Linked DNA regions of Homo sapiens: regions 1 and 2 are each linked to region 3. Evidence: promoter capture Hi-C in human tissues and cell types (Jung and others, 2019). All regions are on one chromosome and are shown on one strand. Each heading gives the region's core, a stretch centred on a gene start or on the middle of the fragment in contact. The rest is flanking DNA. Distances are from core to core; before and after follow the strand shown. Region 1 overlaps STK38L (serine/threonine kinase 38 like). Region 2 has its middle 8.0 kb from the start of C12orf71. Region 3 holds the start of PPFIBP1 (PPFIB scaffold protein 1).

The links. The method cuts DNA at HindIII sites, captures the fragments that hold promoters and counts their contacts. A contact is called where the count stands out against the background at its distance.
Region 1: a fragment that was not itself captured here is called in contact with the fragment with the promoter of PPFIBP1 in region 3 in 1 of the 25 tissues and cell types used here (liver).
Region 2: a contact is called between a fragment that was not itself captured here and the fragment with the promoter of PPFIBP1 in region 3, in 1 of the 25 tissues and cell types used here (hippocampus).

Annotation. Positions count from the first base shown.
Region 1 is chr12:27,251,962-27,256,675 of GRCh38, forward strand. The region is part of intron 1 of STK38L (serine/threonine kinase 38 like); the gene reads left to right. Among named protein-coding and RNA genes, the nearest start is that of STK38L, 10 kb to the left of the region's middle. The HindIII fragment of the contact is 4,536 bases long and covers 1-4,182 here.
Region 2 is chr12:27,072,478-27,076,645 of GRCh38, forward strand. No RefSeq gene overlaps it. Among named protein-coding and RNA genes, the nearest start is that of C12orf71, 8.0 kb to the right of the region's middle. The HindIII fragment of the contact is 7,623 bases long and covers 1-4,168 here.
Region 3 is chr12:27,521,460-27,525,675 of GRCh38, forward strand. It overlaps PPFIBP1 (PPFIB scaffold protein 1), which reads left to right and starts at 2,747. Exons shown (of 30, transcript NM_003622.4): 1 at 2,747-2,906. RefSeq lists enhancers at 1,564-2,165, 2,063-2,522, 2,769-3,369. The HindIII fragment of the contact is 12,160 bases long and covers 1-4,216 here.

The DNA.
Region 1 (4,714 bases), core at 665-3,164, 270 kb before region 3:
CTTGCTGAGGTATCTTACAGTAGCACTTTTTTTTTTGAGACGGAGTCTCGCTGTGTCACCCAGGCTGGAGTGCAGTGGCGCGATCTCAGCTCACTGCAAGCTCTGCCTCCCGGGTTCACGCCATTCTCCTGCCTCAGCCTCCCGAGTAGCTGGGACTACAGGTGCCTGCCACCACACCTGGCTAATTTTTTGTATTTTTAGTAGAGATGGGGTTTCACCGTGTTAGCCAGGATGGTCTCAATCTCCTGACCTCGTGATCCGCCTGCCTCGGCCTCCCAAAGTGCTGGGATTACAGGCATGAGCCACCATGCCCGGCCTACAAAAGCACTTTTGTAGAAAATTGAATATGATCCTTAAAAGAATGGATAAGCTGCAAGTAGTATTCACTTCTGGAAAGTGATAATGTTTGAGAGCTCAGACAGCTTATTCAATGATCCATTTTTGACATACTATCTTGTACTAGTGTCTGTTTTATTAAATTAATTTTTACTAGCAGTGTTCATTTTTACTTAGTTAAGTGTCTACCCACTGACCTGCTCCCATTGTGGAAATACCACACCGTGTTTGCCCCTTACGACTTTTCTGTATTTGGCAGCAGAGGCTGGTTGCTCAGTTTATTGTAGTACTAGGGAGTTGCCCTTTGTTGTGTTTTTCACAACAGCGATCCATTTCATTTGAACATTTTCAGATCTGGTTGAGGATGTTCTCCATATGTCGACTCTTATCTAGACAAACAGAATAGACTTTTTCTATTTTTGTGGCTAGAGTGGAAAATTTTAGTACTGAATTGCATGTATATGACCCATTGATATTCTTGATACTGGCAAATCCTAAAGGAATCACAGACTCATAATATTTTAGTGAGGTTAATCATCATAATTCATTATTTATCAGCTATTTGCAGGGCACTGTGTTAGGTACCATGGCAAAATAGAGACAAATAGATGTTTGGCCCTCCATTTAGAAAAGTTCAGTCCAGTAAGAGGTATAATGTATGGGTACAAATGACTGTAATTCAAACAGAAAGTGACAACGGAGTAACAGGGTACTGTGGGAGCAGAGGAAAGAGAGATTGCTTCTGGCTGTAGAGATTAGGAAAGCTTCCTATATGAAGTGAAATATGAATTGAGCATTTCAGAGTGAAGGACATGCCACGCAGAGGGATTAGCATAAATTGGGTGTATCTGTACAGCACCTGGTAAGTTCTGTTAATTATCTACTTCTCTTTCTGCTCTGTTGGATTTGAACCCTTTGAACTTAGAGAATTGATGTTTTCCAGCTTTTCATTCTCTACTTCACCACCTGTTCAACTTGGTACATTAATTACTTAGAGTTGTAAGTGGCAGTAGTGTATATGGAGTGAATTCAAGGAAAGAGAGTCCAGAAATGGGAAGACCAGTGAAGAGACAAATAATCTAGGTGATAATAATGAAGTTCTAAACTAGGTGAGATTGGGAAGGAGAGACTTGCATGGATGGGTCTCTCTAGTGAAAGAACCTAGGCAGTTCTTTCACTGTGAATTGTACATAAAGTACATACCGTGTGCCAGGAGATATGGAAAGGGAAAGACATGGTGCTCCCTCAGAAGCTGGGCAGGTGACTGGAGAGCTACATTCACAGGGGTAGAAATAGCTGCAATCAGGCATAGCAGCTGTCATGAAAGAGCAGTGAGAGGCACACCTAAGGGAGAGGGGCACCTACTTGGGATAGTGAGAGAAGCTTTCCAAGGATGTGTGAGTGTTTGAGCTTAGACTTGAAGGGTGAGGAGGAGTGTTTCAGGCCGAGAAGCCTCAGGCGGGTATTATCACATAGTGATGTAAGACACGAAGCATATTAGGGGGCCACAGGAACCGGAATTGTTGCCGTGATGCTGGACAGGAGCAATGAACTTTTATTTGCTGTCTATTTATGTTTATCCAGCTTTAGCACTCTGAGCTTTTGTAAGAAAGTGTTTCTGTTGCCTCTAGTAGCCTCTTGGAAGCACCTCTTCTGTGCTTCTCACTCCCAACCTGGAGTGCAGTGCTGGTGATAAATTGTCTCTTGCTTCCATTTTGTGAAATTAAACAGAAAAAGTAAAGATACCATCAGCCAGAGAGATAAAGAGAAAAGTAAATCCACTAAAATCCTTTTCTTTGATGAAGCCTAGAACCACCGAGGTTGTTGTATAAAGAGAATGCTGCATCAAAGCACAGCTTCAAGAGCACCTGACTTGAGGGAGGGGATTGTGGTAGGAACATGATTATTTACCTTTCCCATAGGGTTTTATGGAACTCTTAAACATTTCCCAAGACTGTAATACCTAATAATGAAGTCCTTTTATTCTAGTTCTAGCCTTGATTCTTTTCTCCTCTCTACTCTAAGCCTTATTATTTTTTAAAAATAACACAGTTTAATAACTAACATGACCCTAAACTTCAGATGGTGTCAAACATCATCTCTGGTCCTCCTCTATCCTTGTTTGGTCATTCAGAGACCTGTATGTGCAAATCGTTATTATAAACTTTGTATGTATAATCTACGTTAGATTGCTAGAGATAAAAAGCACTACAGATTTCTTTTTTACATAGATTTACTTTCTACAGTGGTTATTTTTTTTTCTGTCCTTTGGATTGGACCACTGAAACAGAATATAAAGTTGTTTTCTAAGGACAACCAAAAAGTTAATGGTAGTCTCTAATTCAAATTATATCCATTGTATTTCTAGGCCAGCGGTTGGCAGCTGTTTTGGCTTTAGTGCCATTACTGGTAATACTAAAAGATCATGGGCACTCTCAGGAGGAAAGTGAAAGGAACAGAAGGAGGAAAAGCGGGCTTGTGGGGTGGTAGGGGAGGCACAGAGAGGGGGCGGGAGAAAAAGTACATATGGTTAAAAGAGATCAAGTACCTCCACACCTCTTCCAGGTACCACTTGGTAGGACCAGTGCCATATTTAAGGATTAAGTTGAACTCCCAGCAGTCCTGTCTGAAAATACTCTGGTTGTATTTTTATGCCAAAAATGGCAGTTTCTTTTAATCAAACATTTCTGGATTTAATTTTTAAAATTGTATATGGACCAGTGTCTCTTTATTTTTAGAATTGAGCAGAAAAGGAGACAGAAATCAACATACTTTAAATATCAATGAAAATTATAAGCACATTTCTGAAATGTAGTTAAAGCTTTAAGATCTAAATCCATAGATTAGCCCCATTGTATAGCCCAATTCAGGCACAAGGTGGCAGAAAGTAAAGGGATGAATAGCTGGGAACATGTGTTTGAATTTTTACCGTAGTAAAACTGCATTTTCATACTAACCAAGAGTGTAACTGGACCCACAGAAGGAAAAATAGGGCTAAGAAATTAGAGCCTGTGCTTTTCTGTACAAGTAAACCAAGTACTCTCTCCCTTTCAGAAAACATTATCAAACAACAAAAAATTTATTTTTTAGAACTTACACAAGATATTGGACTGACAAAGCCAAAAACAAAAATACTTAAGATTTTAGCTTTTCTGTAATAGTGGTGAAAAGTTATTTCTCAGATTGTAAGAAATACTGTCTTGAAGTTTTTGATTGATTTTCAGAGTTGAAAGATGCTTTAGAGGTCATCTAGTCCAACTCTGTTGTGAATTCCCTGTACATCATCTCCAACAAGTGGATGTTTAGTCTTTGCCTAAATATTTAAGTTCCTTGCCTAAAGACAAGGAACTTAACAGATCATAAGATAGCTAACTTTCATTCCCTTAAATGGTTAATGTGCTCTTTTGTCCCCAATCCTCTTCTCACTCCCTGCACTGTGAGTGTGGGTGATCTCATATGCTGTGATATCTTCAATAACTTCTCTGCAATGATGACTTCCAAACCGGTATATCTTGCTCAGGTCCCCGTCCTGATCTTAAGACCCCATTGTCCATCTGTCTTCTAGATATCACCACCTTTGGTGTGTTCCATGGATAACTTGGATTCTGCTCACCCAGAGCTGACTTTATCTTCTCCCTTCACAGAGCCATTCTTGTGCTCCTTAGCTTTCCCAGTGCATGGCGTTGTTCTCTATTTGGTTCTTAAGCTGTAAACCTGGAAATCACCCTTGACTCGTCCTCCTTGTTTATGACTGACATCTAGTCATTTTTTAGGTCTTCCTTAACTATGTCTTGAACTCTGCCTTTGCTCTTCCTCCAGTGCCAGAATATTCATTCAGGTGCCCAGTGATTGAACTAGCCATCTTTCCCTGCTACCAGTCTTGCCTTCTTTCAGTCTGTCTTCCATGTGGCTGCCACAATGACTGTCCTAAACTTGAATCTCATTATGTAACTTTCATCCTTAAAATTTCTAGTGACTCCCCATGGCCTCTTCCAGGCTCCTTAGTGTGACACATGAGTTCCTTTTTAGTTTTCCAGCCTTGTCTTCCATCACTCCCCTACTCACCTCTCCAACCACACTGAACCACTAGCTTTCTTGTACCTTCGGTCTCACACACTACTTTCTGGAATGCCCTTTCCTATACTTCTTGGGTAATTCCTGTGCTTTCTTTGGTATTCTGCTTAGGCATCTCTTTCAGGGAGGCCTGCCTTGACCTCTTACCTCTGGCAGGGTTAGGTACCTCTCCTAGGCTTTCTGACAGTGTCTAGTATGTATTTCTTTTATGTTTTTTAAATATCCAAACTACAGTAAGAGGTAATAATGTTGGGCATTTACTATATGTCAAAACTTAATGAGCATTTGCTATGTGCCAGGCATA
Region 2 (4,168 bases), core at 1,126-3,625, 450 kb before region 3:
TTAGATCCCATTTGTCAATTTTGGCTTTTGTTGTAATTGCTTTTGGTGTTTTATTCATTAAGTCTTTGCCCATGCCTATGTCCTGAATGGTACTGCCTAGGTTTTCTTCTAGGGTTTTTATATTTTTAGGTCTTACGTTTAAGTCTTTAATCCATCTTGAGTTAATTTTTGTATAAGGTGTAAGGAAGGGGTCCAGTTTCTGTTTTCTGCATATGGGTAGCCAGTTTTCCCAGCACTATGTATTAAATAGGGAATCCTTTCCCCATTGCTTGTTTTTGTCAGATTTGTCAAAGATCAGGTGATTGTAGATGTGTGGTGTTATTTCTGAGGCCTCTGTTCTGTTCCGTTGGTCTGTGTATCTGTTTTGGTACCAGTACCATGCTGTTTTGGTTACTGTAACCTTGTAGTATAGTTTGAAGTCAGGTAGTGTGATGCCTCCAGCTTTGTTCTTTTTGCTTAGAATTGTCTTGGCTATACAGACTCTATTTTGGTTCCATATGAAATTTAAAGTAGTTTTTTTTTAATCTAGTTCTGTGAAGAAAGTCAATGGTAGCTTGATGGGGATAGCATTGAATCTATAAATTACTTTGGGCAATATGGCCATTTTCATGATATTGATTCTTCCTATCCATGAGCATGGATTTTTTTTCCATTTGTTTATGTCCTCTCTTATTTCCTTGATCAGTGGTTTGTAATTCTCCTTGAAGAGGTCCTTCATGTCCCTTGTAAGTTGTATTCCTAGGTATTTTGTTTTCTTTGTAGCAATTGTGAATGAGAGAGAGTTCACTCATGATTTGGTTCTCTGCTTGTCTATTTTTTGTTGTATAGGAATGCTTGTGGTTTTTGTACATTGATTTTGTATCCTGAGACTTTGCTGAAATTGTTTATCAGCTTAAGGAGTTTTTGGGCTGAGACAATGGGGTTTTCTAAATATGCAGTCACGTCGTCTGCAAACAGACATTTTGACTTCCTCTTTTCCTGTTTGAATACCCTTTATTTCTTTCTCTTGCCTGATTGCTCTGGCCAGAACTTCCAGTACTATGTTGAATAGGAGTGGTGAGAGAGGGCATCCTTGTCTTGTGCCAGTTTTCAAAGGGAATACTTCCAGCTTTTGCCCATTCAGTATGATACTGGCTATGGGTTTGTCATAAATAGCTCCTATTATTTTGAGATATGTTCCAATAATACCTACTTCGTTGAGAGTTTTTAGCATGAAGGGATGTTGAATTTTATCGAAGGCCTTTTCTGCAACTATTGAGATAATCATGTGGCTTTTGTCGTTGGTTCTGTTTAAGTGATGGATTATGTTTATTGATTTGCATGTGTTGAATGAGCCTTGCATCCCAGGGATGAAGCCGACTTCATCATGGATAAGCTTTTGATTTGCTGTTGGATTTGGTTTGCCAGTATTTTATTAGGATTTTTGCATTGATGTTCATCAGGGATATTGGCCTGAATTGGTGTGTGTGTGTGTGTGTGTGTGTGTGTGTGTGTGTGTCTGCCAGGTTTTGGTATCAGGATGATGCTGGCCTCATAAAATGAGTTAGGGAGGAGTCCCTAATTTTCTGCTGTTTGGAATAGTTTCAGAAGGAATGGTACCACCTCCTCTTTGTACCTCTGGTAGAATTTGGCTGTGAATCCATCTGGTCCTGGGCTTTTTTGGTTGGTAGGCTATTAATTACTGCCTCAATTTCAGAACTTGTTATTGGTCTATTCAGGGATCGACTTTTTCCTGGTTTAGTCTTGGGAGGGTGTAAGTGTCCAGGAATTTATCCATTTCTTCTAGATCTTCTAGTTTATTTGTGTAGAGGTGTTTATGGTATTCTCTGATGGTAGTTTGTATTTTTGTGGGATCAGTGGCGATATACCCTTTATCATTTTTTGTTATATCTATTTGATTGTTCTCTCTTTTCTTCATTATTAGTCTGGCTAACGGTCTATCTATTTTGTTAATCTTTTCAAAAAACCAACTCCTTGAGGCTACGATTTTGAGACCAGCCTGGCCAACATGGTGAAACCCTGTCTCTACTAAAAATGTAAAAATTAGCCTGTGTGGTTGCGCATGCCTGTAGTCCCAGCTATTTGGGACACTGAGGCATGAGAATCGCTTGAACCCAGGAGGTGGAGGTTGCAGTGAGCAGAGATCATGCCACTGCACCCCAGCCTAGGCTACAGAGTGAGACTCTGTCTCAGCAACAACAAAAGACTATATAGAGCACACTCTCACTCTCAGAAGTCCCCTAGAATGCACAATACTGCATATAGTGGACTATGCCTGTTCTTGTTAGTTTGGAAGAAGCAGAACAATCTGTCACTGCTCAAAATAAAAGAAAACGTCAAAACAATTTGAAGAAATTATTAGCATTGTAAGTGTCAGGCTGTTCTTGATTTGTGAGAAACAGAAATTTACTGTGTTTTGAAGGTAGACATGAGATATTCAGGCTTTGAAACTTGCAAAAATTTCAAAGGACAGAGGACCTACCTCCCCATTTGGCAAAAATTATTCTTTTTAATCTCAGCAAAAGCTAGATAAACTCCTGAAATCTTACATGTTCTGGAAAAATACCTCGATGCTAGTCTGCTTTCAACTGAACCAATTTGGCTTTTTATAGTTAGGACTTGAAGGATGAATAGTTACCAATCTGTGAGACTGAAAATTCTTTGCAGCCAGCTGTGAACCCAAAGGCAGGTGCCAGGATGAATGAATGAATCTAGATTAAAGAATTGCCCAGTTTATATTGCTTGAGAAATCAAATTATTATCTAAGTTTTGTTTAGAGTAAATGTTTGATGTTTTAAATATATATATATATACCTCATAAGCTATTACTGTCATACAAATATAGCAGATATAATACTTTAATAGAGATCTATACTACCTACTTACTAGAACTTTTTTTTATATTTTCCCCATCTTTGCTTTCTCATTTTCTCTTTCTCTCTTTTTTCCTGGACTAATTGAAAGTAAGTTGCAGATATCATGACACTTCTATCCTTAAATATTTCAGCCTAAATTTCCTAAGAACCCAGGACATTCTCCTACATAGCCGTATATTCTCATTATACCCAGCAAATATTCAATCATATTATCTAAGGTACACTCCACATTCAGAAAAAAAAATGCCCTTTACCATAGTTTTTGTTTTGCTTTTGGTTTTGATCAAAGATTCCATCAAAAATGGCTCACGCCTGTAATCCCAGCACTTTAGGAGGCCAAGGTGGGCGGATCACCTGAGGTCAGGAGTTCGAGACCAGCCTGACCAACATGGAGAAACCCCATCTCTACTAAAAATACAAAATTAGCCGGGTGTGATGGCACATGCCTGTAATCCCAGCACTTTGGGAGGCCGAGGCGGGTGGATCACAAGGTCAGGAGATCGAGACCATCCTGGCTAACAAGGTGAAACCCCGTCTCTACTGAAAATACAAAAAAATAGCGGGGTGTTGTGGCGGGTGCCTGTAGTCCCAGCTACTCGGGAGGCTGAGGCAGGAGAATGGCGTGAACCTGGGAGGCGGAGCTTGCAGTGAGCCGAGATTGTGCCGCTGCACTCCAGCCTGGGCAACAGAGCAAGACTCTATCTCAAAAAAAAAAAAAAAAAATTACAAAGAGCAATTGGTTGTCATGTTTCTTTCATCTCTTTTATGAACTCTTTTGTCTCCCTGTCTTTTTTGTGTTTTATTTTGAGTTTTATGATGTTAACATGTTTTAAAAGACAAAGACAGTTGTCTGGTAAAATGTCCTGTTGTCTAGATTCATCTAACTGTTGGTGTCCTCATAATTAGATTCAAATTAAACATTGCTAGCAAGTATACATTGCTTCTTTTCAGAAGGTGCATGATATTAGCTAGGCTAAGTTTAATCACTTGGCTAAGTTGGTGTTGACCAGACCTTTCCATTGTAAAGGTGCCTAATCCTCTTGATAACTAAGAAGGCACCTGTGGGGTAATCTTAGAGAGCATGTGCATGTTTTTTTCCCTGACAGTGATTCACCCAATGGTTTTAGCATCTATTTTTGATCCTTATATGAATCAATTATTAAGTTGCTGGTTGCAATATGGTACTAACTTGATTTCTAAAGTCATTTTACTGAAGAAAAATTCTCCTTTCCATCCCCATGTTCTGCTTGGGGAAAATCTTGGCCCCAAAGATGGATGACAGAAGGACTGAT
Region 3 (4,216 bases), core at 1,497-3,996:
GTGGGACAGGGAAGGGTCAGTAGTTAATTAAGAGACAGGTGAAGTAGTTGGTCCAGAAGTGATCTGAGGAAGTTAAGGGTGTTGAACGAACGGTGGGTAGGGGTGTGGGAGAACAGAAGGGCTCTGGCCCTTCTGGCATAAAAAGAGAGAAAGAGAGAGGAAAAAAAGAACAAGAAGAAACAGTTAAAGTTTTTGTCTGAGAGATTATTTGGGGATAGACTGCATTTAAAGAATGGAAGAGAATAGAAATGATACAATGATCTATTTTCTCATGCCCTATATTTTTATTGAGCCTTTTCCTTGAATTGGGTATAAGGAATATAAAGAGGTCCTATAAGCAAGATGCTTGCTCTTCAGAGTTTGGGAAGGCAGGAAAGGCATTTAACTGGACATGTATAACCACATGTTTACACATCTGTACAATCTCAATCCTTATAACAACCTTTAACATAGGTATTGTCAGCCCTATTTTAAAGAGGAGGTAACTGAGATTCGGGATGGATGTTTTAGTGACTTGCCCAAAGTTACCCAATAGCTAAGTGGCAGAGCCAGGCCAAGAACCTTGAGTCCTTTTCTCTGTCCACTGTAACACACAGCTAAGTCTTGGCAGAGGACAAGGACTTTAATTTAATTAGGCTTTGAGAGAAGGGTGGGACTTAACCCACAGAGGAGTGGGGATTTCGGTTAGGCTGAAAGGTGAGAACGAAGCAGGGATCTGTGAGTAGACCTGTTTGACTACAGAGAGGGTTTCCTGGGAGCGAAGTGGGAGATAAGCTGGGAAAGGTAAGAAGCAGGATAAGAGAGAGTTTTAAATGGCTAGATAAGAATTGCAGGGAAAGGGGGACCTGATTTAGAGGGGAAGATGTTGATGACAAAACCAAACATTTTAGAAAACTCATCGGTAGTGAGTGGTACAGAGAAATAATTAGAACTGGGGGAAACTGGAGTCAGAAATTCAAGTCAGGAGTTTGGAATACTGCAGGTCTGACAAGCAACAAGATGGTAATTATATAAAGTAGGTCTGTGAGAGCAGTGGCCCAAGCCTGTGGATTTCTTGTAGCATTCTATTGTTTGAAAAAGTATAAATTATGGACACTCAATACTTGAGATATAGAAAGAAAATCAATGGCTTTGGAGTCAAATAGACCTCGGTTTCAATCCAAGTTCTAGCTGATTTGGAGAAATTTACTTACATAACTTTGCTGAGCCTTTGATTCCTTACGTTAAAATAGGGCTAGTAACACTCAATTTACAGGATGATTGAGAAGATTAAACAAGACACAATGCTGGATTCTGTGCATCCCTCTACAATTTTTGGCAGATCGGTAAATGTATGGCATGTCATCAATCAAAAAACAATGAGGCCTGGTGTGGTGGCTCACGCCTGTAATCCCAGCAGTTTGGGAGGCCGAAGAGGGTGGATCACCTGAGGTCAGGATTTCGAGACCAGTCTGGCCAATATGGCGGAAACCCCGTCTCTACTGAAAATACAAAAATCAGCCGGGTGTGGTGGTGGGCGCCTGTAGTCTCAGCTACTCGGAGGCTGAGGCAGTAGAATCACTTGAACCCAGGAGAAGGAGGTTGCAGTGAGCCAGATCATGCCACTGCACTCCAGCCTGGGTGGCAGAGTGACCTGTTTAAAAAAAGAAGAAAAAAAAGAGAAAGTTATTAATTCACTATATTTTTAGAAGATGGTGGGTTATATGCTACCTATATCTCATACAAATAAAGCTGCTTTTCACCATTCAGGTCTGCCTGTAAGCAGCATCTGCCTTGAAAGAACCATTTTCTGAGAATCTTTTTCTTCTGTCAGCCAAGGGGATTATACCGCATGATATCTGTCAAGGATAAACGTTAGTTAATTCTTAATTGAGAGCTCAGCCACTACAATTGGTTCCATTCTACAGTAATTATTCTCATGTGGTTTGTGGAACTCAATTGTGAGGTCCCTCCTTCCTCCACCCTTTTCAGTGTGTGCATTGAAACAGCAGCCTTAAGGTCTTTAAACGGGGAAATACATTTTTCTTGCTTCAGAGATTCAATTTTACTTGCCCGAGAAGCTTGTGTGGTGTGATTTTCATCGCTAAAAGCAACAGCAGCCACATGGCTGACAACACCACCACTTAACAATTCAAAGCTCGGTCACCGTTTTCAGGAGTCTCTTCCAAATCTTTCTGAAGTGCTTTTGAAGTTCTACATTCCCCGTCTAAGGGAACACCCAGCAGTCCCAGGATAAAAGGGCAGAAGGGTGAGCTGACGTTTTCCTTTATTTGCATGGCTTAAAGCTAGCCATTTTCTACACCACGCGCCGCCGGGCTTGTACATGCCCGTGTGCCTGTGACACCGAGGCAATTGTTTCTCCTTAAAAAGGGGGTTCGCGTGGGTTAGTTTCGTTTCTGATCTGGAATCTCAGTAACTACAACAAGAAAAGTTTAAAACTCGACCCGCCAGGTTCTTCCCCATCGGATTATCTCCGTTCCTTAGAGATAGCAGGAAGGGCAGCATTTTCTTCCATCCACCCACTTCCAGCCCTAGTCTGGCTCAGCGAGGAATGCATAAAATTAGTGGACTCCTCTGAGTGACGTTCCCCGGCTCCAATCAGCGGGCGCGCAGGCGCCCCCGGCCCCGCCCCACTGCTGACTCTCTTTGGCTGATTCCTGCAGGGAGGGAGGAGAGAAGGGCGGCAGTGGGAGGGGGAGGTACCTGGAACTGGGAGTGATGTCAGCTCCCAGCTCGGTGCCTGCCCGGATTCCTGACATGGTGTAGTGCAGGCAGGGTGGGGAAAGGACGGGGAAGGACTCGTGTGCTGCGAGCTGGCGGCCGGGCCGGAGTGCTGGGGCTTTGAACTCCGAGAGGAGGTGGACCAGAACTTTTGGAACTAGTGCCGGCGGCTCTCCACCCCCCAGGTAAGGGCGTTTTGCTCCACTCCCAGACGGGAGGGAAGTGGCACCGTTGTGTGGCTGCAGCTGGCTGTTGCAGCTGCTCCTCCTCTTCCCCGGGTCGATTTCCTTGTGCAACTCACTCCTGTTTCCCAATGGGAACGGGCACTTTTTGGGGGTGGTGGGGGTGGAGGGGTAGGGCTTAACTCCTGGGGCTTGGACCGAGCTTGTACGTGAAGAATACTCCAGGATTGGACGTTTAGGTCTTGTCTGTATCCTTAGACCCCCACACCCTAGGCTCCCGGTAATACCTGAGAACCCCAACCAGAGGGGCGTGTGTGTCTCTCTGTCTGTGTGTATTGAGGCATTTAAAAATGCCACAAAAAATTATGGATCATCGACTCAAAAATTATGCTCGTTGAAAAGAAAAAAAAAGTTTTGTATTTTTTTGTCTCCTTGTGGCCTATTATATATTAAAAGAATATCAATGTTAGTCTTATATATCAATGTAAAATATCCTTTTGTGTAATCCAGTCAGGATGTGAGAAATTCACTTGGGGTGTTTATTAATTATGAGCTTGCGGGAAAACTCGTCTCTTGGGGGCACACTTCTAAAACTGCAACTAGTATTCACTCATTTTAACCGAGAAATCCCTTCAGCTGCCAGCTTTATATCTGGAGAGGTTAGGATGGCTGCTGAGAATCTTCAGATCTGTTTCCTGTGGCTGCTTGAGGGGCGAGCTGGTAGTTGTGTTTTCAGGGATCTTTTTTAGAGAAGGGAGTTTTAACAGGGAAACGCGGTGGAAGGCGTGGCATATAAACTCTTAATTATAGGGACGTGAAGTTTTCAACATGTGGGACCAAAACAAATCCTTGCTTTCAGTAAGAACTGCGGAGAGCAATAGAAAAAGAACTTGATTTCAAAGTCCAAGTTTGGTATTTTGAGAAAGCAATTGCGGGAGGAAAAAGATACTTTTAAGAAGTGAAAGAATAGAATTCTGATTTTTGTTTATTTCCTATTTCAAACCCTGTCTTTTTCCTATGTGGAGATTTTGTGTGCCCAGGTCACTAACTGGGTGTGATTGACTTTCTCGAGGGGGCGGGGAAATTGACTCCATACACCGATTCAGGACCCTCTCATCAGTGCTTTAAGGCTCTCTTTTGGAGCAGGAAGGAAAAAAAAAAAAAAAAAAAAAAAGTAAGCGCTGAGACTCCTGAGTCAAGTTTCCCCTTTCCTTCACCGAAGTTCCTCCTCAGCAGTGAGGATCCTACTGTTGCCAGGTCTGGAGGAAATGGGAGTGGACTTCATTGTGAGTCAAAATCCGTATCCCAGGCCC